Linked DNA regions of Homo sapiens: regions 1, 2 and 4 are each linked to region 3. The links are contacts of gene promoters, found by promoter capture Hi-C in blood cells and fetal thymus (Javierre and others, 2016). All regions are on one chromosome and are shown on one strand. The core of a region is centred on a gene start or on the middle of the fragment in contact, and the rest is flanking DNA. Distances in the headings are between cores, read along the strand shown. Region 1 overlaps SLC35G2 (solute carrier family 35 member G2). Region 2 has its middle 16 kb from the start of STAG1-DT. Region 3 holds the start of PCCB (propionyl-CoA carboxylase subunit beta). Region 4 has its middle 24 kb from the start of SLC35G2.

Region 1 (7,060 bases), core at 1,728-4,227, 580 kb before region 3:
GGACAAATGACAAATTTTGAATGTGGTGTGTGGATTAGATAGTGGAATTATATCAATGTGAAATTTCTGATTTTGGTGATAACACTGTGGTTATGCAGGAGAGGGTCCTTGTCTTAAAGGAAAACACTTAAGTAGTTAGGGATAATTGGATATCACCTCTGCAACTTACCTTCGATTGGTTCAGAAAAAGAAAATGAATGGCAAAACAAATGTAAAATGTTTACAATTGGAGAACTTGGGTGAAGAATAATAAGAGAGTTATCTTTTACCCAGGAGTTTGTTGTATTATATTTGCAACTTTTATGTAAGTTTGAAATTACTACAAAATAAGTTACAAAAATGGCAATACCAGTATTTAATTCGTTGGATTTTGGGGAAAAGTACATGAGTTAATATGTGTGGTATGTTTACAACAGAGCTAGACACATAATAAATGCTATATATATATGTTAGCAATGATGGTGATAGTGAGACAGTGGTGGTGGTGATGATGAAGTCCTGAATTTTAAACACACAGGTGCAGTGGCTCATACCTGTAATCCCAGAACTTTCAGAGGCCAAGGCGGGCTGATCACCTGAGGTCAGGAGTTCAAGACCAGCCTGGCCAACATGGTGAAATTCCTCCTCTACTAAAAATACAAAACTTAGCTGGGTGTGGTGGCAGGTGCCTATAATCCCAGCTACTCTTCTGAGGCATGAGAATCGCTTGAACCCGGGAGGCAGAGGTTGCAGTAAGCCAAAATCACGCCACTGCACTGCAGCCTCAGCCACAAGAGTGAAACTCCGTCTCAAAAATAAATAAATAATAAACACACAATTCATCTGAATTGGGATGAGTTGACTCTGGCTCACTTTTCTCCTTTTAGATTTAACAAAGAAATTAAAATAGTATTTACTTGCATCTGACATGCTAACAACAATGTAAATTTGTTTATTGCAATTTAAACACTGTTCATATAATGTTTTATACACTAGTGTCCCCAAGCAAAAGACATGTTAGTAATATTTTTTTAAATAATCCAAGATCAAATTTTTAAAAAGCCATTTTCACCTTTCATTAATTTAGGCAATCTGGTGATAATGAGAATATGCAATACATAAATATATACATATATTAACATATATTTAATAAAGGTAAATCATGTACAATGCTATTGTTTACGGTTACTATACAATACCATATACAGTAGCATTGTATATGATTAACCTTTATTAAATATATACATTAATATATATTACAATACATAGAATTAAAGACCATGAGAGTTTAAAAGATTTTGGGGATCATCTACTCCAATTCCTTTGAGAGTAAGTATATCTTCTCTCTACAGCAGGGGTGCCCAACCCTCAGTGCATGAACTAGTACTAGTCTGTGGCCTGTTAGGAACTAGGCCACACAACAGGAGGTGAGTGGAGAGCAAGCGAGCATTACTGCCTGAGTTCTACCTCCTGTCAGATCAACGGCAACATTATATCTCACAGGAGCACAAACCCTATTGTGAACTGTGCATGTGAGGGATCTAGGTTGCATGTTCCTTATGAGACTCTAATGCCTGATGATCTGAAGTGGAACCGCTTCATTCTGAAACCATTCGTGAACACACCCCCCACCCGCCGACTCCTTCCATGGAAAAACTGTCTTCCATGAAACCAGTCCCTGGTGCCAAAAAGGTTGGGGATGACTGCTCTACAGCATCCCCATCAAATAGTACAGTTTCTGATTGACCACCTACAATGACTAGAAACACTCCTTCTCAAAACAGCCAGTTGGAAGTCATTCCTGATTGTTAGAAAGTTACTTTTTAACAATGAGTCAAAATCTTTCTCCATGTAATTTCCAGAGGCTGCTACTATATGTCTTCTGAGGTCACAAATTGATTCCCTCTTCCACTTAACAACATTTCAATAACGTGAACTACTATTCCCTACCCTCCTCATCTAAATTCTCCCACTGTAAGTTTCCTCTTCTCCAAACTGAATAGCCCCTGGGTTTTCAATTATTCCATGTATAATCATGGTTTTCAGTCCTTTCACCATCTTATGTTTTATTCTTTTTTTTTTTTTTTTTTTTGAGACAGAGTCTCGCTGTTGTCACCCAGGCTGGAGTGCAGTGGCGCGATCTCAGCTCACTGCAAGCTCCGCCTCCCAGGTTCATGCCATTCTCCTGCCTCAGCCTCCCAAGTAGCTGGGACTACAGGCGCCCGCCACCATGCCTGGCTAATTTTTTTGTATTTTTAGTAGAGACGGGGTTTCCCCATGTTAGCCAGGATGGTGTCGATCTCCTGACCTCGTGATCCACCTGCCTCGGCCTCCCAAAGTGCTGGGATTACAGGCGTGAGCCACCACACCCGGCCTCAGTCCTTCCACCATCTTAACCACTCTCCTCAGTTTCTATACTTTGTCCTGTTCAGGGGGATTTTGTTTCTATGAAGGCAGTCTGACATCACATCAGCTATCTGGCAATCTCATGCATTCATGATTATTCCTTTATTCAGTCAGTATTTATGAGTGCCTATGATGTGGAAGGCACCATGCTAAGACATTATGAGAGACAAGACCAAGAAGGCATAAGCTTTCTCTTAAGGAACTTAAATGTTAATGGGTGAGAAAAGATATCAGACACAACAAGTACTATGCACATTAAAGGAAGGAAATTATACAATTAACTATAGATTTGCTTTAACATCAGAATATGGGTGAACAAAGCAAAAGTAATGACAATTTCAGCCTAGAACTAATTTGTTTTGGGATAGCATAAGAATTGGTAAAAAGGAGCAGTTTGAGATTTAAACTACACTAAAAGAGAAACTTCTAGATTAGAAGAATGAGCTGGGCATGGTGGCTCACACCTGTAATCCCAGCATTTTGGGAGGCCAAGGCAGGTGGATCACGAGGTCAGAAGATCAAGACCATCCTGGCTAACACTGTGAAACCCCATCTCTACTAAAAATACAAAAAAATTAGCCAGGCCTGGTGGCGGGCACTTGTAGTCCCAGCTACTCGGGAGGCTGAGGCAGGAGAATGGCATGAACCCGGGAGGCAGAGCTTGCAGTGAGCCGAGATCGTGCCACTGCACTCCAGCCTGGGCGACAGAGCTAGACTCCATCTCAAAAAAAAAAATGAAGAATGATCACACAAATGCAGAAGACACAAAGAGTTTACAGTTTGTTAACCCCTGAGAGCTCTAACAGGAATAATTATTTGTGCAGAGTGATTTACATGCAATTTTTTAAATAGGCAAAAAAAAAAAAGACTAGACTCAAGCACTTTACATGTATTATCTCACTTAAACCCACAAGTCCAACAAGGTAGGTACTATTACTCCTTTTTTCAAAAAACTTAAACGAAGCTCAGCAAGGTTTGGTGACTTGCCCAAGCTTACCAAGGTCCTAAATAGTGCAGTCAGGCTTCAAACCCAGGCTGTCACATTCCAAACCATTTGTTTACAACTTGAGATTATCAGCTACTTAATGCCCAACAAAGCAATTTCTGGCAAATTCCCACCCACATGCCTTCAACTTTCCTGGTGACCTACTTGAAAAACCTCTCACTGAACAATCTGGTTCATTCTCTGGATTCTAGAACACTTTCTACAGGGCTCTGTCATCATCCTTGACATACTGTATCATTGTGAGGTGCCTATGTACCAGTATCCCCTGATAAAGTGTTACCACTCCAAGAAAAGGCATTATGTCTTTATCTTTCTTCTAAACATCTCCAACCCCTAGCTCAGTGTAAGACTCAACAAATGCTGGAAAAATGAATGAGTCCTCTGGCTTAGCTGATATGCTTTGGAGAAAGTCACCTTCTTAACCAAGCACCTCTAATTCTGGATCTAATTAGTTGTAGTGCAGAGCTTTGGTTGTCACAATTCTGCAACCTAACTCTATCTTGTATCTCCTAACTGTAAAGTAAGGGAATCCAAAAAGCAATGTGAGTATCTAGCTGTTGTCCACCACCCTCCTCAGCAGCCTCATTCATTTTTCAGGGTCTTCACTCCCATTTACAACAGTGGCCAGCCAGAGTTACACAGAAACCAGAGGCAAAATAAATGGGAAATTAAATCACCTAATATTTCTCCTTTCCTCCATTGAGTTCCTAAAGTAAAAGAGTTCAGTAAAGTTGCTGATACTTTGGGGTCTTAAATAAAAGAGAGATACAAAGCAAGTGATTTTTATGCAGTCAGAAAATGATTAAACAAAATTTAGTAAAGATGGCAGGTATGTGGATTGAGTTCACATATAATTATAACTATGAAATAGTGTTAAGTTGAAAAATGCAATTGACATACTGAAGAATGCATTAGAGTCTCTTAATAGCAGAATTGATAAGGCAGAAGAAAAAAAATTACTGAGATTAAAGACAGGCCATTTGAAAATACACTGTCAGAAGAGCAAAAAGAAAAAAGAATAAAAAGAAATGATGTGGGCTGTGTACAGTGATTCATGCTTGTAATCCCAGCACTTTGGGAGGCTGAGGTGGGCGGATCACCAGGTCAGATCGAGACCATCCTGGCCAACATGGTGAAACTCCATCTCTACTAAAAATACAAAAAGTAGGCCAGGCGCGGTGGCTCATGCCTGTAATCCCAGCACTTTGGGAGGCCAAGGCAGGCAGATCATGAGGTCAGGAGATTGAGACCATCCTGGCTAACGCGGTGAAACCCTGTCTCTATTAAAAATACAAAAACATTAGCTGGGCGTGGTGGCGGGCGCCTGTAGTCCCAGCTATTCGGGAGGCTGAGGCAGGAGAATGGTGTGAACCTGGGAGGCGGAGCTTGCAGTGAGCCGAGATGGCGCCACTGCACTCCAGCTCGGGCGATAGAGCAAGACTCTGTCTCAAAAAAAATAATAATAATACAAAAAGTAGCTGGGCATGGTGGTGTGTGCCTGTAATCCCAGCTACTCAGGAGGCTGAGGCAGGAGAATCGCTTGAACCTGGGAGGCGGAGATTGCAGTGAGCTGAGATCGCGCCACTGCACCCCAGCCTGGTGACAGAGGGAGACTCCGTCTCAAAAAAAAAAAAAAAAAAAAAAAGAAATAATGTATGTCTAAAAAATCTAGAAACAGCCTCAAAAGGGCAAATCTCAGAGTTATTGGCCTTAAAGAGGAGATAGTGAAAGAGATAGAGGTAGAAAGTTTATTCAAAGAAATAATATGAGAACTTCCCAAACCTAGAGAAAGAGATCAACGTTCAAGTACAAGAAGGCTATAGAACACCAAGCAGGTTTAACCCAAAGAAGACTACTTCAAGGCATTTAATAATCAAACTCCCAAAGATCAAGGATAAAGAAAGGATCCTAAAAGCAGCAAGAGAAAAGAAACAAATAACATATAATGGAGCTCCCATATGTCTGCCAGTAGACTTTTCAGTGGAAACCTTACAAGCCAGGAGATAGTGGCAAGACATATTTAAAGTGCCAAGGGGGAAAAAAAAAATTTACCCTAGAGTAGTATAGCTGGTGCAAATATCCTTCAAGCATGAAGGAGAAATAGTTTCCCAGACAAATAAAAGTTGAGGGATTTCATCAACACCAGACCTTTTCTACAAGAAATGCTAGAGGGAGTTCTTCAATCTGAAAGAAAAGAACATTAATCAGCAATGAAAAATAATCTAAAGGAGTCCAGGTGCGGTGGCTCACACCTGTAATCCCAGCACTTTGGGAGGCTGAGGCGGGCAGATCACAAGGTCAGGAGTTCAAAACCAGCCTGGCCAATATAGTGAAACCCCGTCTCTACAAAAACTACAAAAATTAGCCGGGCATAGTGGCGGCCGCCTGAAGTCCCAGCTACTTGGGAGGCTGAGGCAGGAGAATCGCTTGAACCCGGGAGGCGGAGGTTGCAGTGAGCCAAGATGGCGCCACTGCACTCCAGCCTGGTGCCAGAGCAAGACTCCATCTAAAAAAAAAAAAAGTCATCTAAAGGTACAAAACTCACTGGTGATAGTAAGCACATAGAAAAACATAGAATATTATAACACTATAATTGTGGTGTGTAAACTGCTCTTATGTAGAAAGACTAAATGATAAGCCAATCAAAAATAAATTTTCAAGACGTAGACAGTACAATAGATGTAAAGAGAAACAACAAAAAGTTAAAAAGCAGAGAGATAAAGTTAAAGTGTAGAGTTTTTATTAGTTTTCTTTTTTGCATGTTTATGCAATCTTTGTTGTCATCAGTTTAAAATAGTGGGTTATAAGACAGTATTTGCAAGCCTCATGGTAACCTCAAGTCAAAAAACATACAACAGATACACACACACACAAAGCAAGAAATTAAATATGCCACAAGAGAAAATCATCTTTACCAAAAGACAAGAAGGAAGGTAAAAAGGAAGAGAAGACCACAAAACAACCAGAAAACAAGTAACAAAATGGCAGAAGTCCTTACTTATTGATAACATTGAATGTAAACAGACTAAATTCTCCAATCCAAAGACACAGACTGGCTGAATGGATTAAAAAGCAAGACCCAGTGAATCTGTTTCCTACAAGAAACACACTTCACCTATAAAGAGACACATAGACCAAAAATAATAAAGGGATGGACAAAGATATTCCACGCCAATGAAAACCAAACAAGGACAAAAGTAGTTATACTAATATCAGACAAAATAGATTTCAAGACAAAAACTGTAAGAAGAGACAAAAAAGGTCATTATATAATAATAAAAGGGTCAATTCTTCAAGAGGCTATAACAACTATAAATAAATATGTACCCAGTGCTGGTGCACCCAGATATATAAATTAAACATTACAGGGAAAGAGAGAGACCTCAATACAATAATAGCTGGAGACTTCAACACCCCACTTTCAGCATTGGACAGATCGTGCAGACAGAAAATCAACAAAGAAACATTGGAGTTAATCTGCAATATAGAACAAATGGACCTAATAGATATTTACAGAACATTTCATCCAACTGCTGCAGAATACATATTCTTCTCATCACATGGATGATTCTCAAGGATAGAACACATGTTAAGTCACAAAACAAGTCTTAAAACATTAAAAAGGTTGGGTGCGGTGGCTCACGCCTGTAATCCCAACCCTTTGGGAGG
Region 2 (7,449 bases), core at 1,145-3,644, 520 kb before region 3:
CATTCATGCTTCTGCTATCTAACCTTTCCCTGATGCCAGAATGGTGACTCTTCTTTTTGCCTGCTATCCCTGGACACAAAGAACACAAAGGGCCCAGGTTGATAGCCATAGCTTGGAACTCAGTGGGAGTCTTGCTATATTCTCTGGTAAAATTGCACTCCTTCTGGGGACCTGTACCTCCAACTTTGTAGAGCTCAGACTTGGGAGACAATTCTTCTGCCTTATTAGCCTCCCAAAGAGCTGGGATTACGATTGTAGGTGTGAGTCACTGAGCCTAGCCAGAATGGGTGATTTTTTAATAAATGAAAATTTATTTCTTACAGTTCTAGAAGTTGGAAAGTCCAAGAGCAAGAGGCTGGCATATGGCAAGGCCTTCTTGCTCCTCATTCCATGGTGAAAGGTGGAAGTGCGAGAGAGAGAGTAAAAAGGGTCCAAATTCTTCCTTTCATAACAAACCCACTACCAAGATAACAGCATTAATTCACTCACTCTGCCCTCATGGCCTAATCACTTCCCATTAGGCTTCACCTCCCAACACTATTGCATTGGGGATTAAGTTTTCAACATATACTTTTTGGGGGACACATTCAAACCATAGCAGAGTGGCACTAATTTCTGCCATTCCTCCAACAGTACTGTTTTTTGTTTTGTTTTGTTTTGTTTTGTTTTTTTGAGACAGAGTCTTGCTCTGTCTCCCAGGCTGGAGTGCAGTGGTGTAATCTTGGCTCACTGCAACCTCCGCCTCCTGGGTTCAAGCGATTCTCCTGCCTCAGCCTCCCAAGTAGCTGGGAATACAGGCACCTGCCACAAAGCCTGGCTAATTTTTGTATTTTTAGTAGAGACGGGGTTTTGCCATGTTGGCCAGGCTGGTCTCGAACTCCTGGCCTCAAGTGATCCGCCTGGCTCGGCCTCCCAAAGTGCTGGGATTATATGTGTGAGCCATGGTGCCCAGCCTACAGTACTATTTTTGATTTATATCATTATAATTGTTATTTCATAGGCCAAGGACCCAATGAGGGAGTTGTGCCAACTATGAAGTATATCTACTCTGATTATGTATTTGGGAAATGGGGAAATTACCAACATATAGGTCTGTAGAAGAGTAGATCCAATGTGATCTGGACCTTGTTTCTTAGTGAATTCAGACTACTATAACAAAATACCCAAAACCGGGTAGCTTATAAGTGATGAACATTTAAATCTTACAGTTCTGGAGGCTGGAAAGTTCAAGACAAGTTGCCAGCAGATTTCAGTGTCTGGTAAGGGCCTGTTCTTCATACATAGCACCTTCTCCCTGTGTCCTCATATGGAGGAAGGGGTAAGGCAGCTTCCTCAGGCTTCTTCTTTTTTTTTTTTTTTTTTTTCTGTTTTTTGAGACAGAGTTTTGCTCTTGTTGTCCAGGCTATAGTGCAATGGCGCAGTCTCGGCTCACCGCAACCTCCAACTCCTGGGTTCAAGTGATTCTCCTGCCTCAGCCTCCTGAGTAGCTGGGATTACAGGCACGTGCCACCATGTCTGGCTAATTTTTGTATTTTTAGTAGAGATGGGGTTTTGCCTTGTTGGCCAGGCTGGTCTGGAACTCCTGACCTCATGTGATCTGCCCACCTCGGCCTCCCAAAGTGCTGGGATTACAGGCTCTAGCCACCATGCCCAGCCCTCAGGCTTCTTTATAAGAGTACTTATCCCATTCATGACAGCTCTGCCCTCAAGATCTATCATTTCCCAAGGGACCCGCTCTTAATATTATCACATTGGGAATTAGGTTTCAACATATTAATTTTGGGTGAACTTAAACATTCAGACCATGGCATCTTGGGTAGGACTTCATTTATTACCTGACCCCCACATGTACCTACCCTAATAGGGGGACCATAAATGATTCTTTGGGTCTCTATGTATCAACGTTAATTCAGAGTCTGGAACCAATAGTCTTTGAAATGTTTTGGTACTACTACCATTTTCCCAGTGCATGATTATTTGAGTAAAGCCATAGGTCCAACAGTTCTGGAACAACCATTGGGGAAGGACGGAGAAAATCATTCCTGTGTACTTTCACCATGGTGTTACAGGTTATTTTTTCCTGGGGACCTAATCTCTCCTTGAGTTAATGGATTTCATGTCTAAAGCATGAGTTCATGTTTGGAAACTTGTCAAGGAATTATATTTCAATTGGGGTTACTGATTCAGTCTCCTGGTCATAAATTTTTAAAAAACAAACTGAATACCCTTATTGGTTGCCCACCTATTTTTTTCCCTAAGGACACCACATTAATTATCTCCATAATAATCCTCTGAGGGCCACCTCCCCCGACTGTCTCTCTGATCTTATAATAACTGTCCAATTAGACATTTATTTATTTATTATTTTTTGAGATGGAGTCTTGCTCTGTCGCGCAGGCTGGAGTGCAGTGGCGGGATCTCAGCTAACTGCAACCTCTGCCTCCCAGGTTCAAGCGAGTCTCCTGCCTCAGCCTCCTGAGTAGCTGGGACTACAGGCATGTGCAACCACGCCCAGCTAATTTTTTGTATTTTTAGTAGAGATGGGGTTTCACTGTGGTAGCCAAGATGGTCTCGATTTCCTGACTTCATGATCTGCCTGCCTCAGCCTCCCAAAGTGCTGGGATTACAGGCATGAGCCACTGCACCCAACCTATTATTATTTTTTAGATGGAGTCACTCTGTCACTCAGGCTGGAGTGCAATGGCACGATCTTGGCTCACTGCAACCTCCGCCTCCTCAGTTCAAGAGATTCTCCTGTCTCAGCCTCCCAAGTAGCTGAGACTACAGGTATGCTCCACCACACCCAGCTGATTTTTGTATTTTTAGTAGGACGGTGTTTCAGCAAGTTGGCCAGGCTGGTCTCGAACTCCTGGCCTCAAGTGATCTGGCGACCTTGGCCTCCTAAAGTGTTGGGATTACAGGCATGAGCCACCGAACCCAGCTAATTTTTTTTTTTTTTTTTTTTTTTTGAGACGGAGTCTTGCTTTGTCACCGAGGCTGAAGTGCAGTGGCATGATCTCGGCTCACTGCAACCTCCACTTCCCAGGTTCAAGGGATTCTCCTGCCTCAGCCTCCCGAGTAGCTGGGATTACAGGTGCCCACCACCACACCCAGCTAATTTTTGTATTTTTTTTTTTTTTAGTAGAGACAGGGTTTCACATATTGGTCAGGCTGGTCTTGAACTCCTGACCTCAGGTGATCTGCCTGTCTCGGCCTCCTAAAGTTCTGGGATTACAGGGATAAGCCACCACGCCTGGCCTACTTATTTATGCATTTTTTTGGAGACAGGGTCTCACTCTGTTGCCCAGGATAGAGTGCAGTGGTGCAGGCATGGCTCACTGCATCCTTGACTTCCTGGACTCAAGCAACCCTCCTGCCTCAGCCTCCTGCCTCAGCTGGGACCACAGATGTGTGCCACCATGCCTGGCTAATTTTTTTTTTGTAGAGACAAGGTCTCCATGTTTCCCAGACTGGTCTCAAACTCATGGTCTCAGGTGATCCTCCCACCTCAGCCTCCCAAAGTGCTGAGATTACAGGTATGAGCCACTGCACCCAGACAACACTTGTTGTCTTGATAGAGAGAGGTCTCTGCACCATCTCTGAGCAATGGTGCAGAGAGGGTGGGCCACTTTTAGGAACGTCCTCATCTAATGTGTCAAGCCCCATTCTTTCCCAACTAGGGCCCTGACCTTAACTTGATTTACCTGTGTTGACTGGAAAGTGAATCTTCTTTGGAGCTTAGCTACTCTAAGTTTATTCTTTAGCTTATTCTGTACCCCCACTGCTGGAGAGGAGAGCCACTTTGTGAGCTATTAAGCAGACTCTCTAATTTTCACTTGGTGATTAATCATTCTCAATGAAGAAATTGGTGATTAATCATTTTCAACTTTTCATTATCTTTTTTCTAGTGCATCAATCGGTTAAACAATAGTCTTAGTCTGTTTTAGTCAGCTTGGACTATTATAACAAAATACCACACATCAGGAGGTTTAAACAACAGAACTTTATTTATCACAGTTTTTGGGGGCTAGGAAGTCCAACTTCAAAGTGCCAGCTGACTTGATTCCTAGTGAGGGCTCTCTTCCTGTCTTAAAGATAGCTGCTTTCTTGCTTTGTCCTTACATGGTCTTTCCTTGGTGCATGTGTGCAGAGATAGGGAAAGAGAGAGAGAGATCTCTCTTTCTTTTCTTAAAAGACCATTAGTCCTATCAGAGTAGAACCCCATCGGTGCATGCGTGCAGAAACAGAGAAAGAGAGAGATTTCTCTTCCTCTTCTTAAAAGACCACTAGTACTATCAGAGTAGAACCCCACCCATATGACCTAATTTAACCTTAATTATCTCTTAAAAGTCCTATCTCCAAATATAATCACATTGGGGACTAGGGTTTCAATACAGATATTTTGGGGGATATATTTCAGTCCATAGTACCAATCAATTCCATCATCCTTATAGTTGCTATTTCCCCCATGTTTCTCAAATGCTTAATACATCATATCTGTAAATATATACTCTTTTACTGGTGTATCAACCCAATTGACCATGCATGAAAGTTTTAACAATTGGACTGTAATCTTGTGATAGGGGTCCTCATTGTCAGGTGGGCAGCTAGTGATCATGCTCCAAAGTCCCATCTTAGTGCCTGCTTTCTCATACCTCACTCCTGCCACCAACTGTCATAGGTTGGGTTCCTGGGAAGCAAACTATGAAACAGAATTTAACAGGCAGGTTATTTATTAAGGAGTGCCCTTGGGGTTAGCACTTGTGGAACAGAGGGGGAAGGACACGGATTGGGCAGAGAGAGATTATGCAGATTACATAGGGAGTCTGGGATGTTACAATTGACCTTTAGAGTTGTCCCAAGTTGGGCTAAGATGGTCAAGCTCTTATACCTTCACGTTAAGGTTTTGCTTGTTTGTTTGTTTTGTTTTGTTTCTGTGTGTGTGTGTGTGTGTGGTGGGGTGGGACGGGGGACAGCATTTGGCTCTGTTGTCCAGGCCGGACACAATCTTGGCTCACTGCAACCTCCACCTCCTGGGGTCAAACCATCCTCCCACTTCAGCCTCCCATGTCCCTGGGACTGCAGGCTCATGCCACCATACCTGGCTAATTTTTCTATTTTTTTAGAGATGGGGTTTTGCTATATTGCCCAGGCTGGTCTCAAACTCCTGAGCTCAAGCCATCCACCCACCTTGGCCTCCTGAAGTGCTAGGATTATAGGCGTGAGCCACCATGCCTGGCCTCTTATACCTTCACTTTGATCAGCAATTGCATGTGGGCCACTTGGGAAGGAACCTAACCTTGAGCAAGGTGGCGCTCTGCAAATGTAGCAATTCTGAAGGAACCAAAGACTTACCCAACAGTGAACTCAGTAGCTAGAAGAAGTCCTTAATTAAAAGGAGAGCTTGAGGGAGTGCACAATGGCTAACACCTGTAATCCCAGCACTTTGGGAGGCCGAGACAGGCAGATCACTTGAGGTCAGGAGTTCAAGACCAGCCTGGCCAACATGGTGAAACCCCTGTCTCTACCAAAAAAAAAAAAAAAAAAAAAAAAAAAAAAAAAATAGCCAGATGTGGTAGCACGTGCCTGTAGTCCCAGCTACTTGGGGTGGCAGGTGGATCTTTTGAGTCTGGAAGATTGACGCCGCAGAGAGCCGAGATCATGCCACTGCACTCCAGCCTGGGTGACAGAGTGAAACCTTGTCTCAAAAATAAAATAAAAACATCAGGAAAGTTTACATAAAGTTGCTGTTGATTTGCTAAATGTAATAGTCTGATCATGACACTGAATAAATGTCTCAAAAAAAGACAAAAACTATGTATGGATGTCCATTAGAAAGTAAATGAAAAAATTGTAGTATAATCATGCAATGGACTACTATAGCAGTACTGAAAAGGAATGAACAGTTAATTCACACCACATGGATGAATCTCAAAATAATTTTGTTGAATAAAGAAGACAAAAAAGTACATGATGTATTATTCCCTTTATATAAAATTCTAGAAGATGCAATTAATCTGCAGTGACAGAAAGCAGATCAGTGGTTACCTGGGGATAAGATAAATAAAGGAGGTTTGGGGAAGACAGTTTACAAAGGATGATGAGGCAACTTTTGGAGTTGATGGATATATTAATTGTTATTCTTATTTTTTTTTTTTTTTGAGACAGGGTCTCACTCTGTCACCCAGGCTGGAGTGCAGTGGTGCGATCACAGCTCATTGCAGTCTTGATCCCCCTGGCTCAAGGGATCCTCTCACCTCAGCCTCCCAAGTAGCTGGGACTACAAGCATGTGCCACTGCACCCAGCTATTTTTTTGTTTATTTTTTTCTAGAGTCAAGGTCTCACTATATTGCCCAGGCTGGTCTTGAATTCCTGAGCTCATGCAATCTTCCTGCCTTAGCCTCTCAAAGTGCTGGGATTACAGACAGACATGAGCTACCATGCCTGGCCTATATTCATTATGTTGATTGTGGTGATGGTTCCATGGGTATACATATATGTCATAGTTCATCAAATTATAAACTTTAAATATGTGCATTTTTGTTATATGTCAATCATATCTCAATGAAACTGTATCAAACATCTATATATATATAGTACTATATACTCAGTACATGTCTGCCTAGCTGTCATTGACAAAGTATATTCACTTTTAGTTTATTGATTGCTTACGTTAATTCAAAAAAATTGCAATTCTGATCATGAAAAGTTGTTACTAAATTTTTATTTCTAAAATGTTATATCACTAAGATTAAAGAGAAAGCCTAAAAGCTTCTGGAAATGAATAATAGTGGCTACCTCTGGAAAGAAAGCTAAGATTCTAGTGCGCAAGAAATAGGCAAGTAACTTTTTACTGTTTGAATTGGTAACGTGTGTAATATTTATATTAAAAAGTTCTTTTTTCAGAAATAACTTGATTGGGGAGGGTGGGGCTTGGGGAAGAAGAAATAACTTGACTATGAAATATATGTAATGAAAGATTGCAAAAGTGATCTGAATATGTTTCCATAATATATTTTAACCTAGAGATGATTTATAGCTAACTAAGTTAATTAAACATGAAAGGAAAAATTTCTGGTGGTAATGAGGGGATTAAAAAGTTAATTATTGGCCAGGCACAGTGGCTCATGCCTGTAATCCTAGCACTTTGGGAGGCCAAGGCAGGCAAATCACTTGATGTAAGGGGTTCAAGACCGGCCTGGCCAATATGGTGAAACCCAGTCTCTACTAAAAACTACAAAATTGGCCAGGCATGGTGGTGCATGCCTGTAATCCCAGCTACTTGGGAGACTGAGGTAGAATTGCTTGAACCTGGGAGGTGGAGGCTGCAGTGAGCTGAGATTGTGCCACTGCACTCCAGCCTGAGTGAAAGAGTAAAACTCCATCTTTAAGAAAAAAAATAATTAATTAATTATCTATTAAGACCACACTTCCATCCAATTTATCAG
Region 3 (7,016 bases), core at 4,254-6,753:
AAGATCACTCAGTGATGTCATCACAGACAATTTAGTAAGCAAAGCAAGGGCTGTTCATGGGAGGGCTTGAAGGGCAGATTTGCCCGTTGATCTCAATGCAAGTACTTTCATTCTATCCAACCTGCCCAAGGCAGATAGGTGTTATTAGTAGACTTTAGATGACATGGAAATCAGGACAGACAGTGTGCGCCAGAAGCCACCCAACTGTGGAAGATGAATAAGGAAATAGGACGAGGAAAAGGTAGAGAGAAGTGGGGATAAGGAGAACCTGACCCTGGAACACAATTAATTAGTTCCACAAATACTTACTGGAGACCTAAGGAGCCATAAAAAGAATGCAGAAGCAGGTGGTGGAAACTAAAGCAGGCTTAGTGAAGGATCTGACACAGGTTTTTTCTAGGGAGACCTACAGAAGCACACCTCACCTCACGAGGGTCCCTACTGCTCCCAGCTCCCACCTCAAGGACACGCTACTTCCTGGTTCTTCTCCTGCCTCCTCTGTGGGCTTCTCCTTCTCCTACTATCCTATCCCCTGTTTAGGGACCCCACACCTGACAGTGACACTGTGACACAGAGATGACCCCACAGCAGGGAGTGGCTGAGTAGAAGGGGAGTGGGACACAAAATGCTAAAGAGCTCACTTGAGAAGAGTTTAAAAATGCTTCTTTGGGCCGGGCACGGTGGTTCACGCCTGTAATCCCAGCACTTTGAGAGGCAGAGGCGGGTGGATCACAAGGTCAGGAGATCGAGACCAGCCTGACCAACATGGAGAAACCCCATCTCTATTAAAGATACAAAATAAGCCGGGTGTGGTGGCATGCGCCTGTCTTCCCAGCTACTCAGGAGGCTGAGGCAGAAGAATCGCTTGAACCCAGGAGGCAGAGCTTGCAGTGAGCCGAGATTGTGCACCATTGCACTCCAGCCTGGGCAACAAAGTGAAACTCCGTCCCAAAAAAAAAAAAAAGCTTCTTTGAGGAGATGAGGTCAGAGCTCTCAATCTACCAGGAGCCTCGGCTGGGCACAGTGGCTCACACCTGTAATCCCAGCACTTTGGGAGGCTGAGACGAGCATCGCTTGAGCCCAGGAGTTTGAGACCAGCTGGACAACATGGCAAAACCTGGTCTCTACTGAAAAATACAAAAATTAGCTGGGAGTGGTGGCACGTGCCTGTAATCCCAGCTACTCAAGAGGCTGAGGCAGGAGAATCACTTGAACCTGGGAAGCGGAGGTTGTGGTGAGCTGTGATCACTCCACCGTGCTCCAGCCTGAGCAACAAAGCGAGAACCTGTCTTTTAAAAAAAAAAAAAAAAAAAAAAAAAAAAAAGCTAGCCGCAGTGGCTCACACCTGTAATCCCAGCACTTTGGGAGGCCAAGGCAGGCGGATCATGAGGTCAGGAGATCGAGACCATCCTGGCTAACACGGCGAAACCCTATCTCTACTAAAAATACAAAAAAAATTAGCTGGGCTTGGTAGCACCCACCTGTAGTCCCAGCTACTCGGGAGGCTGAGGCAAGAGAATCGCTTGAACCCAGGGGGCAGGGGTTGCAGTGAGCCAAGATCGCACCACTGTACTCCAGCCTGGGTGACAGGGTGAGACACTGTCTCAAAAAACAAAAACAAACAAAAAAAAGCCGCCATTGCTTGGGCTCCCAAGCTCTCAGCCCCAAGCAAATACCCTAGCCTACCGTCCCCTTCCCCAACAACAACAAAAAAAACCACATACCTCAAATTGGCTATTATTTCCCCCTTAGGAAAGTAGCCAAAGCTGGTGAGGTTGTGTTTAAAATAACAAACAAAAATCAGGCAATCCTATACACTGTCACGTAAAGTAGAATAAGTTTTTAGGAAACCAACTTGGCAACATATATACAGATTTTTAAAATATATTTATACTGACCAGGCACTGCAGCTCACACCTGTAATCCCAGCACTTTGGAAGGCCAAGGTGGGAGGACTGCTTGAGCCCAGGAGTTGAGACCAGCCTGGGCAACAAAGCGAGACTCTGTCTCTACCAAAAAATAAAATAAAATAAAATAACTAGCAGGGTAGGAGGCTGAAGTGGGAGGATCACTGGAGCCCAGAGGTCGAGGATGCACTAAGCCATGATTACACCACTGCCCTCCAGCCTGGGTGACAGAGTAAGACCCTGTCTCAAGAAAAAAAAAAAAAAAAAAAAATTCTGTCATCCCAGCACTTTGGGAGGCCGAGATGGGAGGATCACCTGAGGTCAAAAGTTAGAGACCAGCCTGCTCAACATGGTGAAACCCCGTCTCTACTAAAAATACAAAAATTAGCCAGGTGTGGTGGCACGTGCCTTAAATCCCAGCTACTCAAGAGGCTAACGCAGGAGAATCACTTGAACCTGGGAAGCAGAGGTTGTAGTGAGCCACGATCACTCCACCGCACTCCAGCCTGAGCAACAAGGTGAGACCCTGTCTTAAGAAAAAAAAAGAGGCCATGTGCAGTGGCTCACGCCTGTAATCCCAACACTTTGGGAGGCCGAGGCAGACGGATCACGAGGTCAGGAGATCGAGACCATCCTGGCTAACATGGTGAAACCCCGTCTATACTAAAACTCCAAAATTATAGCCAGGTGTGGTGGTGGGCACCCGTAGTCCCAGCTACTCAGGAGGCTGAGGCAGGAGAACGGCATGAACCCGGGAGGCGGAGCTTGCAGTGAGCCAAGACCGCGCCACTGCACTCCAGCCTGGGTGACAGAGCAAGACTCTATCTTAAAAAAAAAAAAAAAAAAAAAAAAACCTCCATTGCTTGGACTCCCAAGCTCTCAACCCGAGGCAAATACCCTAGCCTACTGTCCTATCCCCCCCTCCCCGAAAAAAACAAAAACAAACAAAAAATACCTCAAATTGGCTATTATTTTCCCCTTAGGAAAGTAGCCAAAGCTGGTGAGGTTGCATTTAAAAAAAAAAAAACAAAACAAAAAACAGGCAATCCTATACACTGTCATGTAAAGTAGAGTAAGTTTTCAGGAAACCAATTTGGCAACATATATACAGATTTTTAAAATATATTTATACTGACCAGGCACTGCGGCTCACACCTGTAATCCCAGCACTTTGGAAGGCCAAGGTGGGAGGACTGCTTGAGCCCAGGAGTTGAGACCAGCCTGGGCAACAAAGCGAGACCCTGTCTCTACCAAAAAAAAAAAAAAAAAAAAATTAGCTGGGTAGGAGGCTGAAGTGGAAGGATCACTGGAGCCCAGAAGGTCAAGGATGCAGTGAGCCATGATTACACCACTGCCCTCCAGCCTGGGTGACAGAGTAAGACCCTGTCTCAAGGAAAAAAAAAAAAAAATTCTGTCATCCCAGCACTTTGGGAGGCAGACGCGGGTGGATCACCTGAGGTCAGGAGTTCAAGACCAGCCTGGCCAACATGGTGAAACTCCATCTCTACTAAAAATACAAAAATTAGCCAGATGTGGTGACACATACCTGTAACCCCAGGTACTCTGGAGGCTGAGGCAGGAGAATTGCTTGAAGCTGGGAAGCAGAAGTTGCAGTGAGCTGCTGCACTCTAGCCTGGGCAACAGAGTGAACTCTGTCTCAAAAAAAATAAATAAACTTACACCCTTTGACCCACTAATTCCTCTTCTGGGAAAATCTACGGAAATGGTCAAAAATTGTTTTAAAAGGGGTGCAGGGCCGGGTGCAGTGGCTCACACCCATAATCCCAACACTTTGGGACGCCAAGGTGGGTGAATCACTTGAGGTCAGGCGTACAAGACCGGCCTGGCCAACATGGTGAAACCCTGTCTCTGCTAAAAATACAAAAAAAAAGTTGCCAGGCATGGTCGTGGGCACCTGTAATCCCAGCTACTTGGGAGGCTGAGGCAGGAGAATAGCTTGAACCTGGGAGGCAGAGGTTGCAATGAGCCAAGATCGCACCATGGCACTCCAGCCTGGGCAACAAGAGCAAAACTCCGTATCAAAACATAAAAATAAAAAGGGGTGCAGGAGGGGGTTCATATTAAATCAGCCTCCTAAGTTAACTTTGGCAAAAGAAAAACAGCTTCTGGAGGCTTCATCTAAACCTAGTAGGATCTACCTGGGAAAGGGCTAGGCGATGTTCCAGGGAAGAATTGAGCAATAGGCCCCAACAGAAAGAGTGTACAGGAGCACTGACAGGCCTTTCCAGAGGATGATCTAACATCTCCCTCAGCCCTAACAGAGTAGGTTAGAAGTAGCCCCAGGGGAGAGAAAGCACTCCTAGCACCACAAACCATCACTAAATTTACATTTCACTCTCAAGTGTCAAAAGGAACTGTTACCTTTGGACCCTTGTCAAATGCGAATTTATGACATCTGAATCAATATTAGACAAATATAGAGCTGTTCAAATCTCCTCACTTTAAGACCCCATCCCTCCCCCAGTGCCTCCCTCATGGTTGTGAGTTGTGCCTGAATACTCTTCATCTGTAAGAGTTTCACTTCTGCACCTTCCCGTTGGTTAATTCGTTCAGCACAACGGTCCAGACTCACCCACCAGTCACGGACACACTGGGCAAGCCTGGTTTCAAGTCAGGGATCACCTCTCCAAAATGGGCCGCCCAGCTTATCTCTGAAGGCCAGCTGGATTCTCGCCTCAAAACCCAGGCGGTGGGTGGCAGTGTTTCAACTGCTCAGTCCAGCCAAACATCGAGAGTAGCCTGCGCACTCCCAGAAAGGCCACCTGCTTCCGACACGTGCCTTTGCTACCCATCAAGGCGAGGCATGCTAAGGCCCTAAAGAGCTCGACCAGGCATTCTGCGGGCAGAAGTTCCACAAGTTCCTGCACGCGCACATCCCCCATTTCATGTTAGTGGAGTATGCCCAAGTTCAGTTTTCCTGCTTCCACAAAGGAGAAAGAACCTACCATCACTCTTTCATGGGGCACGAGAATAAGCACATGGTTTTTACTGAGCGCCTATCATTTTGCTATCTATGGTCTAACGATACACTTGTGAAGGAAGAATTATTATTAAAATGACCCACAGAGATTTAATAAGTTGCCCAAAAGCTTATGTTAAGTGTTGAGCTGGCTAGAGACGAGCCAGATCCGTCTAAATCCCAAGGGTTAAACAGTATGAAAAAGCACACAGGTGCTTCTGCTGGTTATACCCGCCTCCACGAGAAACGCTACAGGTTTTCAAGGTGAACACCCTTGCTCCGGCCCCTCCAGGCACCGTGCGGATTGGCAGGGAGGCCTCGGACGCCGCAAGCCGGGCACGCAGTGATAGGTCGCGGACGCCAGGGGCGGGACTCACTTAGGCCCCTCAGGACTCACTCGCTTGTGCTGCGCGTCAATACGGCGTTGGCCCCCTCCCAGCAGCGCGGTCCGGCGCTTGTTTTCGATGCGTTCGTTAACAGAGGTGGCCTGGCTGCAAAGGCTGCGGACCGCGGCGCGGAGACCGCTCGCCAGAACGCTGAGCCTTGCCCCGACCGCCGCCACCCGTAATGCCGCCGCCATTTTTGCTGTGCCGGCGCGTCCCCTACCGGCGCACCTGAGTACGCATGTGCTAAAGCGTGGGTACGGCGCTTGCGCAGCATCGGCTGGCTGTAGGGAGCCGCGGGGGCTGGACTACAGAACCTGCTTGGGAGTAAGGCGTGAGAGTTCGAGACCCGGTGCTGCCCGAGGAGGGTCGCGCAGAGAAAAAGTACAGGGCCTGCCTGGCTGCACAAAAAAGGGACATAGTCCTTGCTCTTCTCTGACCACCTAGACCCTTAACTTTGTCGTCCCACTTCCTACAGAAAATGATTATAAGATTTAACCAACATTTATTAAGCATTGTGCCAGGTGTTGCTTTTTGCACTTACCATGCACTAGCTTACTATCTGGATTTCACAGATGAGGTAAATCAAGCACAGAGAGATGAGTGATTTGATCAAGAGGCAAGACTGAGGCCGAGGTAGGTGAGCCCAGGAGCCCAAGACCAGCCTGAGCAATATAGTAAGACCCCACCTCTACAAAAAAATTAAAAATTAGCTGGGCATGGCGGCTTGCACCTGTGACCCCAGCTACTCGGGAGGCTAAGGCGGCAGGATGGCTTGGCCCAGGAAGTCGAGGCTGCAGTGAGCCGTGATTGCATCACTGCACTCCAGCCTGGGCAAAACCCTGTCTCAAAAAAAAAAAAAAAAAAAAGCCAAGACTGACAATGTGGTTGGCCAGGATTCAAACTCAGAGACCTATCATTAATATGTGCCAGATAATGAGCACAGGACCCTTAACCTCTAATCAGTAGTTCTCAAAGTATGGATCCCATTAAAGAAAAAACTATTCATGACACTTAATTATTCATGTTTAAGAATGGTAAGGCAAACTTTATTCAGGCCCAATCTGACAGAGGTAGGGATAGAGTTTTGCCATAAGTCAGAGCGATTGGGCTGAATATAGCAAAGTGGTAATTTATAGCTAAGGGGCAGTGTGTGGAAGTCAGTGGATGGAAAATTACTAAGAGGAAACATTGGCGGGGAATCTGGCTAAATTGACCTAACAGGATTCCTGCCCAAGGCAGGTCAGGGTAACTGAACATCACCTGGGGGATGGTGGCGGTATGGGTCAAAACCAGATATGGAGAGTAATCAGATATCAAGAATGGAGGATTCTGGCTAAACTGACTTGGCAAGTTTCTTGCTAAAATGGAATTCCACAAGGAATGACATGGGAGCCCACACTCAGGCCTAGTCAAAGAGAGAGCTCAGAAGAGCCTGACCAATGTTTGATCAAGGAGGGAATCTTGTCAATCCAGCAACTTCAGTATCACCTGGGAGTGAGTTGGAAATGCAAGCTCGAATTCTCAGAACTTACTCCAGACCTTTAAATCAGAAACTCTGGGGCTGGGGCCAGCCATCTGTTTTAGCAGATGACCTTTAGGTGATTCTGATCTGCTTGCTAAAGTTTAAGAACCACTGCTCTAGGAATTTGGAATTGTACTGTTGAGAGCTTGACCATCTGTTTCTCCCACTAACAGGCAGGTCTTCAAGACAAAGAACATGGTTTATATTTCTCATTTTTAGCC
Region 4 (7,238 bases), core at 4,465-6,964, 540 kb before region 3:
GAAAGAGTGAAAGGATGTGTGGGTGGTGTGTGTCTGTGGTGTGTTTGGTGTGTGTGTGTGTGCGTGCGTGTGCGTGTGTGTGTGTGTTGGAGGAGGTATGATATTTTGGTCTTAGTGCTGAGAAAGTGAATCATTGGATAACAAGATTGTTTATAAGCCTGGTGTTTCCTATTCTTTAATGTCAACAAAATCAGAGGAGGATCTAATCAAGTTGTCAGCTGATCGTTCAACAAAAATAATTTTTTATAATATATCTTTTTTTGGCATATAACTTAGGAGGAGTTTGAAGCTTGAGTGACATTTGGTTATAACAAAATGTCTTCCATTCTTCTATTCCCATCATCTTATTTATATAAAGATTTGTCAGAGCCATATATATGTTATGTGTATATGTATACACACATAAACAAAAAAGAAATGTGAATGATTCTAAATGCTATCTCATTTCAGCAATAAAAAAATTTCACTCATGCATTCATGAAACAATTTTTAAAAATAGCCTTCCATCGGCCGGACGCAGTGGCTCACGCCTGTAATCCCAGCACTTTGGGAGGCTGAGGTGGGCGGATCATGAGGTCAGGAGATCGAGACCATCCTGGCTAACACGGTGAAACCTCATCTCTACAAAAACTGCAAAAAATTAGCCAGGTGTGGTGGCGGGCACCTGTAGTCCCAGCTACTCGGGAGGCTGAGGCAGGAGAATGGCATGAACCCAGGAGGTGGAGCTTTCAGTGAGCCGAGATCGCGCCACTGCACTCCAGCCTGGGTGACAGAGTGAGACTCCGTCTCAAAAATAATAAATAAATAAAATAAAATAGAATAAAAATAGCCTTCCATCTCATTAATAAACTTCTTTCTAATTAATTCCATTTTAATTTACATACATAATTTTTGTTGCCAAGAAGTATGATGGTGTGATCAATAAAAGACTTTCAAGTATAAAAAAATTCTGTGGGCTGGGTGCAGTGGCTCATGCCTGTAAACCTAGCACTTGGGGAGGCTGAGGCGGGCAGATCACGAGGTCAGGAGTTCAAGACCAGCCTGGCCAATGTGGTGAAACCCCATCTCTACTAAAAATACAAAAATTAGCCGGGCGTGGTGGTGTGTGCCTGTAATCCCAGCCACTTGGGAGGCTGAGGCAGGAGAATCGCTTGAACCCGGGAGGCGGAGGTTGCAGTGAGCCAAGATTGTGCCATTGCACTTCCGCCTGGGCAACGGGTGTGAAATTCTGTCTCAAAAAAAAAAAAAATCTGTGGAGAAAGTGGAATGGAAATATAAGTTCAAGGAGAAAAAAGGCCAATGTAAAATTTTCTGCTGAAAAAGAGGTTGTTCGTGTTTTGTTTTGTTTTGTTTTGTTTTTGAGACAGAGTCTCACTCTGTTGCCAGGCTGGAGTGCAGTGGTGCCATCTCGGCTCACTGCAACCTCCGCCTCCCAGGTTCAAGAGATTTTCCTGCCTCAGCCTCCTGAATAGCTGGGACTACAGGTGCGCACCACCACACCCAGATAATTTTTGTACTTTTATTAGAGACGAGGTTTCACCATGTTGGCCAGGATGGTCTCAATCTCTTGACCTCATGATCTGCCTGCCTCAGCCTCCCAAAGTGCTAGGATTATAGGCGTGAGCCACTGAGATGGACTGTTCATGTATTTTTTAAATGGATGTTGGTTTGGGGCTAGGTGTGATGGCTCACGCCTGTAATCCCAGTGCTTTGGGAGGCCCAGGTGGACTGATCACCTGAGGTCAGGAGTTCAAGACCAGCCTGGCCAACATGGTGAAACCCCATCTCTACTAAAAATACAAAAAAAAGCCGACATGGTGGTGGGCACCTGTAATCTCAGCTACTCAGGAGGCTGAGGCAGGAGAATCACTTGAACCCAGGAGGCGGAGGTTGCAGTGACCCGAGATCACACCGTTGCACACCATTGCACTCCAGCCTGGGCCACAGAGCAAGACTCTATCTCCAAAAAATAATAATAATGATAATAATGTTGATGGGGAGGATATCAAATATTGAATTGCTTTGTTATTTAGATTCCACTGGATTTATTTAAAAGTTATATAATGACTTAATTTTAAAATGTCTATTTTTTTTTTTTTTTTGAGACGGAGTCTCGCTGTCGCCCAGGCTGGAGTGCAGTGGCGCGATCTCGGCTCACTGCAGGCTCCCCGCCCTGGGGTTCATGCCATTCTCCTGCCTCAGACTCCCGAGTAGCTGGGACTACAGGCGCCCGCCACCTCGCCCGGCTAATGTTTTGTATTTTTAGTAGAGACGGGGTTTCACCGTGTTAGCCAGGATGGTCTTGATCTCCTGACCTTGTGATCCGCCCGCCTCGGCCTCCCAAAGTGCTGGGATTACAGGCGTGAGCCACCGCGCCCGGCCAAATGTCTGTATTTTTAAAGTGCCAGAAACTATATAGTTTGCAATGATTAAACTTATGATAAAAATGTTAAATGTCAACTTAAAAAATGCAAGGAGATACGTAGTTTTCAAATTATTTTAGAGAATATGTGAGTCAAAATGTTTGATGACCACTGATTTAAGATTCTATAAGCCAAGCCCTTTTATTATTGTTTTACTTTTTTTGTTTTCTTTTTTTGAGACAGGGTCTCACTCTGTCATCCATGCTGGAGTGCAGCAGTGTGATTTCAGCTCACTGCAACCTCCACCTCCCAGGTTAAAGTGATTCTCCTGCCTCAGCCTCCCGAGTAGCTGGGACTACAGGAATGCACCACCAGACCTGGCTAATTTTTGTATTTTTTGTAGAGAGAGGGTTTCCTATGTTACTCAGGCTGGTCTCAAACTCCTGAGCTCAAGCGATCTGCCTGCCTTGGCCTCCCAAAGTGCTGAGATTATAAGTATGAGCCACTGCCCACAGCCCCAAGCCCATTTTCATTTTGTTTTCTTTTGTTTTTAATTTAACCAAGACTCAAAAAGACCATCATCACCAGAAAAGAGCTCTTGGTCCTGGTGACAGCTCCTTAATATTGAACCAGGCTCATAAAGCTCTATCCAGGAATTTCAAATTCCATTAGTTTAACATCTGGCCAGTCACCTCCCTTTCCCCTCACTTTCTACTCTACATCACTCCTCAACTCTAAACTAGAGCCATGAGGGAGTCTTGCAACTTCCCAAAAGCCCCCTAACATTTCACACCTCTCGGCCTTTGCTCAAGCTGCTCTCTCTCTGCCTGGCATGAACTTTACCTCTCACTACCCTCATTTCCTCTTCTCCAGGCAAAAGGGAATTTCTCCCAGAAATTGTCACTCATAACTGTTTTGTTTGTTTGTTTGTTTGTTTTGAGACCGAGTCTCACTCTGTTGCCCAGGCTGGAGTGCAGTGGCACGATCTCAGCTCACTGCAGCCTCTGCCTCCCGGGTTCAAGCAATTCTCCTGCCTCAGCCTCCCAAGTAGCTGGGATTACAGGCGTGCACCACCACACCCGACTGATTTTTTGTATTTTTAGTAGAGACAGGGTCTCACCAGGTTGGCCAGCCTGGTCTCGAACTCCTGACTTCAGGTGATCCACCCATTTCAGCCTCCCAAAGTGCTGGGATTACAGGCATAAACCACCTTGCTGGAACATAACTGGTTCTCAATTGAGGGTGACTAACCATCCCAGTTTTTCTAGGACTAAGAGGTTTCATTAGTATGGGGGACTTTCTGTGCTAAAACCTGGATAGTCCCAGGTCGATCAGGATGGTTGGTTACCCTACTATTGTATGTTCAACCTACTCAAAGTTACACCTAGGGGAGTGGAACCAGCTTTAGGGTATTATATCTTCTCCCAACTGACAGGTCTGTGGAAGACAATACTCTTCCATATCCCAAGAGCACTTTCTTAGGCTAATATAGTTCAAATGCTTTAGGCATTTAAGTTACAGTATTCCTGATTACGAGCTCACACTTCAAACAGCAGTTATTTTGTGTTCTTAAAAGAAACACTCTCTTCTAATTAATTGAACTCATGTTTGCATATTCAATTCCTGCCAGTGCATGCCTTACAGCATCACTTAAAAATAATTTGTCTCTGTGCATGTGGGGCTCCTAGACTCCTAAAAATAACTTTGAGAGAAACAGTGTACATTTCCTGTGAATGTATGTATATGTATTTGGGGAAGTGGGAGATGGAAGGTTGAATTTTTTTTTTTTTTTTTTTTTTTTTTTTTGAGACAGAGTCTCGCTCTGTTGCCAGGCTGGAGTCCAGTGGCATCATTTCAGCTCACTGCAACCTCCACCTTCCGGGTTCTAGCAATTCTCCTGCCTCAGCCTCCTGAGTAGCTGGGACTACAGGCAGGCGCCACAACACCCAGCTAATTTTTGTATTTTTAGTAGAGACAGGGTTTTACCATGTTGGCCAGGATGATCTCGATCTCTTGACCTTGTGATCTGCCCGCCTCAGCCTCCCAAAGTGCTGGGATTACAGGCGTGAGCCATCACGCCCAGCTGGAAAGTTGATTCTAATAACCCTTAGGAGTGTTTCCAGAATTTTCCCAGGGCAGAATGTGGTCAGAAGCAGAGAAGCTATGGAGACATGTTACCTGACTAAACTTGAGTATCCAATCTGTTCAATTGGTACAATTCAATAAAATAGATGTCACTATTTTACTGGATTATTGAAAAGATTAAAAAAGGCAGTGTAGCAACTTGGTGAGGAACACAGATTCTGGAGCCAAGCACCCTGGGTTTGAATTTGGTCTCTAGAGCTTACTAGCTATGTGAACTTGAGCAAGTTACTTAACCTCTATGCCTCAATTCTATGCCTCAATTGAATGTGAATAACAATATAAGCTGCTTCATAGGCTTGTTATAAGAATCAAATGAATTAATGTGTGTAAAGAACATAGAAAGGGGCTTAGTACACAGTAAATGATATATCAGTGTTTGTCAAGTAAGTCTATGTGAAGTACCTGGAGCATGAATAGGCACCTGGGAAATGACACTATTATTGTATTTATATGCATTATTTCTTAGCTGGAATCTTTATATTTTCAGAGAATAAATGGATTCAACAGAAGTTCAGCAAATTACTGAACCATGAGAATAGATTTTCTAACTCTCCACTAAGGGTCCTTTGTTCAAATTGTCTAGGGGCTCACCGAGAAAAGACTTTGAGAGGTCAGATTTTTTTTTTTTTTGCATTGGTAAAAAAGTTTGAAAATTGTCAACAGAATTATGTAAAATAAATTTTTTTATATTAGCAAAGCTGTCATCTCTGCAGTTTTTATCAAAAGTGTTTCATTTCCATCATTTTTCTGTTTGCCCAGGAAGGGAGGTCAGCATATGCAGCCTGGTTCAGAGTCCAGGTCAGCAGGCAGCCATCCTCAGCAGGGCTTCCCTTGGTACACAGGGCTTTGAAGCCAATTTTGGGTTACCATAGTAACCAAGAGAGCTTCTAGAAAAATTTCCAAATGAAACATTCATTCAGGACACCAACAGGCATGGCCTGGGGGTGGGGAGTTGGGGAGGAGAGGGACAAAAATATACTGTCCCTGACTTCACCAAGTTCACAGTCTGTTGAAGAGAAACAGTGTAAAAAATCATTGACTTAGTTCCTCAATTTAAAGACGCTTTTAAAAAACATTTTAAAGCTTCCAAAGTCAGATGCATGAATAGATGAGTTCATTTAATGTTATGGATTCCCCCGACACAGATATCTATTATTAAATTAATAGATTAAAAGATGTCTTACAATCTATAGCGTTTTGGACTGGAAAACATTTGGTATACTAGTGTGCCACGTGCTATGACAGAAGCACATACAAAGAACAGAAGGGGCCAAGCAATGAGGGGAGGGGGAAGCAGCATGAGAGTATTTGAGCTCCCTGGGAAGCTTTGTGCAAGCTTCTGCCTTGGTTCTGACTTATTTGGATACAGAAAAAGATGCAGGACTCTACCAGCAGGATAAAAATCAAATTGCCTTCTCTCTTTCTCAATTAAGTAAACATGGCACACCAATTTCAGCCTGTGATACACAGATGACAGAGAGGTAGAACAGGGCTTGATGGTGGCCAGGCTTGTGCCACTGATGGCCAGTTTGTGAGCACTCAGCCCTAGCCCTTCCAGCTACATACCCAGGCAGCAAGGGGCAGATCTTGTTGAGGAGGCTCTGTTTGTACCATTAGCTTTGAGCATGGTTACTCTCATGGGTGCCTCTAACTGAACTTGTAAGAAGTCCTTTGGGAGGCTGAGGCGGGCAGATCATGAGGTCAGGAGATCGAGACCATCCTGGCTAACACGGTGAAACCCCGTCTCTACTAAAAATACAAAAACATTAGCCGTGGTGGTGGGCCCCTGTAGTTCCAGCTACTTGGGAGGCTGAGGCAGGAGAATGGTGTGAACCTGGGAGGTGGCGCTTGCAGTGAGCCAAGATCGCGCCTGGGCAACAGAGCGAGACTCCATTTCAAAAAAAAAAAAGAAGTCCTATGGTTGGGGCCATACGTATACCAAGTAGTAGAGCACCACACTCTTCCTTGTATATTGGAGGGATGGTACTGTCCAAAAACCAAAAACAGCAAATACTTACATAGCCCTTTTTTTTTTTTTTTTTTGAGATGGAGTCTCACTCTGTCACCTAGGCTGGAGTGCAGTGGCATGATCTCAGCTCACTGCAGCCTCCGCCTCCCGGGTTCAAGCAATTCTCCTGCCTCAGCCTCCCAAGTAGCTGGGATTATAGGCGCATGCAACCATGCTTGGCTAATTTTTTGTATTTTCAGTAGAGACGGAGTTTCACCATGTTAGTCAGGCTGGTCCCGAACTCCTGATCTCGTAATCTGCCGGTCTCAAACGCCTGACCTCATAATCCGCCCACCTCGGCCTCCCAAAGTGCTGGGATTACAGGCGTGAGCCACCGGCATGGCCCTATATAGCCCTTCTTAACAGTTCCCCTCCCACAACCCTTTCACCCACTTACCCAGAGGCCTTCCGGGACCAACAATGTAACATAAATTGAGACCTGAAGAACAGCTGCTCAAAATTAAAAAATTAAAACCCATGCCTGACAAAGAAAACACTTCTGGAGACAGAATAAGGACTGGGTAAGTTCTGAGTTTGCAACTTCCGATCTATTCCTTTGATCCCTACCCATGGTCAGAGCCCCATCTCTCTTTGGTGCTCAGCCTACAAGGAACTGGCATGTAGTCATTTTGCCCCATGCTATTCCCTTGCAGGGTAGACAGAGGAGGCTTCATTGATCTGGAATCACTTGGATAGGGTCTTGAAGGATGAGTAGTAGTTTG

What was found. The method cuts DNA at HindIII sites, captures the fragments that hold promoters and counts their contacts. A CHiCAGO score of 5 or more calls a contact.
Region 1: a contact is called between a fragment that was not itself captured here and the fragment with the promoter of PCCB in region 3, in 8 of 17 cell types (fetal thymus, neutrophils, naive CD4 T cells and 5 more). The highest score is 8.4, in fetal thymus.
Region 2: a contact is called between a fragment that was not itself captured here and the fragment with the promoter of PCCB in region 3, in 1 of 17 cell types (neutrophils). The highest score is 7.7, in neutrophils.
Region 4: a contact is called between a fragment that was not itself captured here and the fragment with the promoter of PCCB in region 3, in 7 of 17 cell types (total CD8 T cells, non-activated CD4 T cells, total B cells and 4 more). The highest score is 7.1, in total CD8 T cells.

The regions. Positions count from the first base shown.
Region 1 is chr3:136,828,081-136,835,140 of GRCh38, reverse strand. The region is part of intron 1 of SLC35G2 (solute carrier family 35 member G2); the gene reads right to left. Among named protein-coding and RNA genes, the nearest start is that of SLC35G2, 12 kb to the right of the region's middle. The HindIII fragment of the contact is 805 bases long and covers 2,575-3,379 here.
Region 2 is chr3:136,764,970-136,772,418 of GRCh38, reverse strand. No RefSeq gene overlaps it. Among named protein-coding and RNA genes, the nearest start is that of STAG1-DT, 16 kb to the right of the region's middle. The HindIII fragment of the contact is 8,760 bases long and covers 1-6,774 here.
Region 3 is chr3:136,248,827-136,255,842 of GRCh38, reverse strand. It overlaps PCCB (propionyl-CoA carboxylase subunit beta), which reads right to left and starts at 5,503. Exons shown (of 15, transcript NM_000532.5): 1 at 5,285-5,503. The coding sequence starts at 5,467. RefSeq lists enhancers at 5,029-5,078, 5,709-5,768, 4,998-5,864. The HindIII fragment of the contact is 10,493 bases long and covers 5,020-7,016 here.
Region 4 is chr3:136,791,299-136,798,536 of GRCh38, reverse strand. No RefSeq gene overlaps it. Among named protein-coding and RNA genes, the nearest start is that of SLC35G2, 24 kb to the left of the region's middle. The HindIII fragment of the contact is 242 bases long and covers 5,594-5,835 here.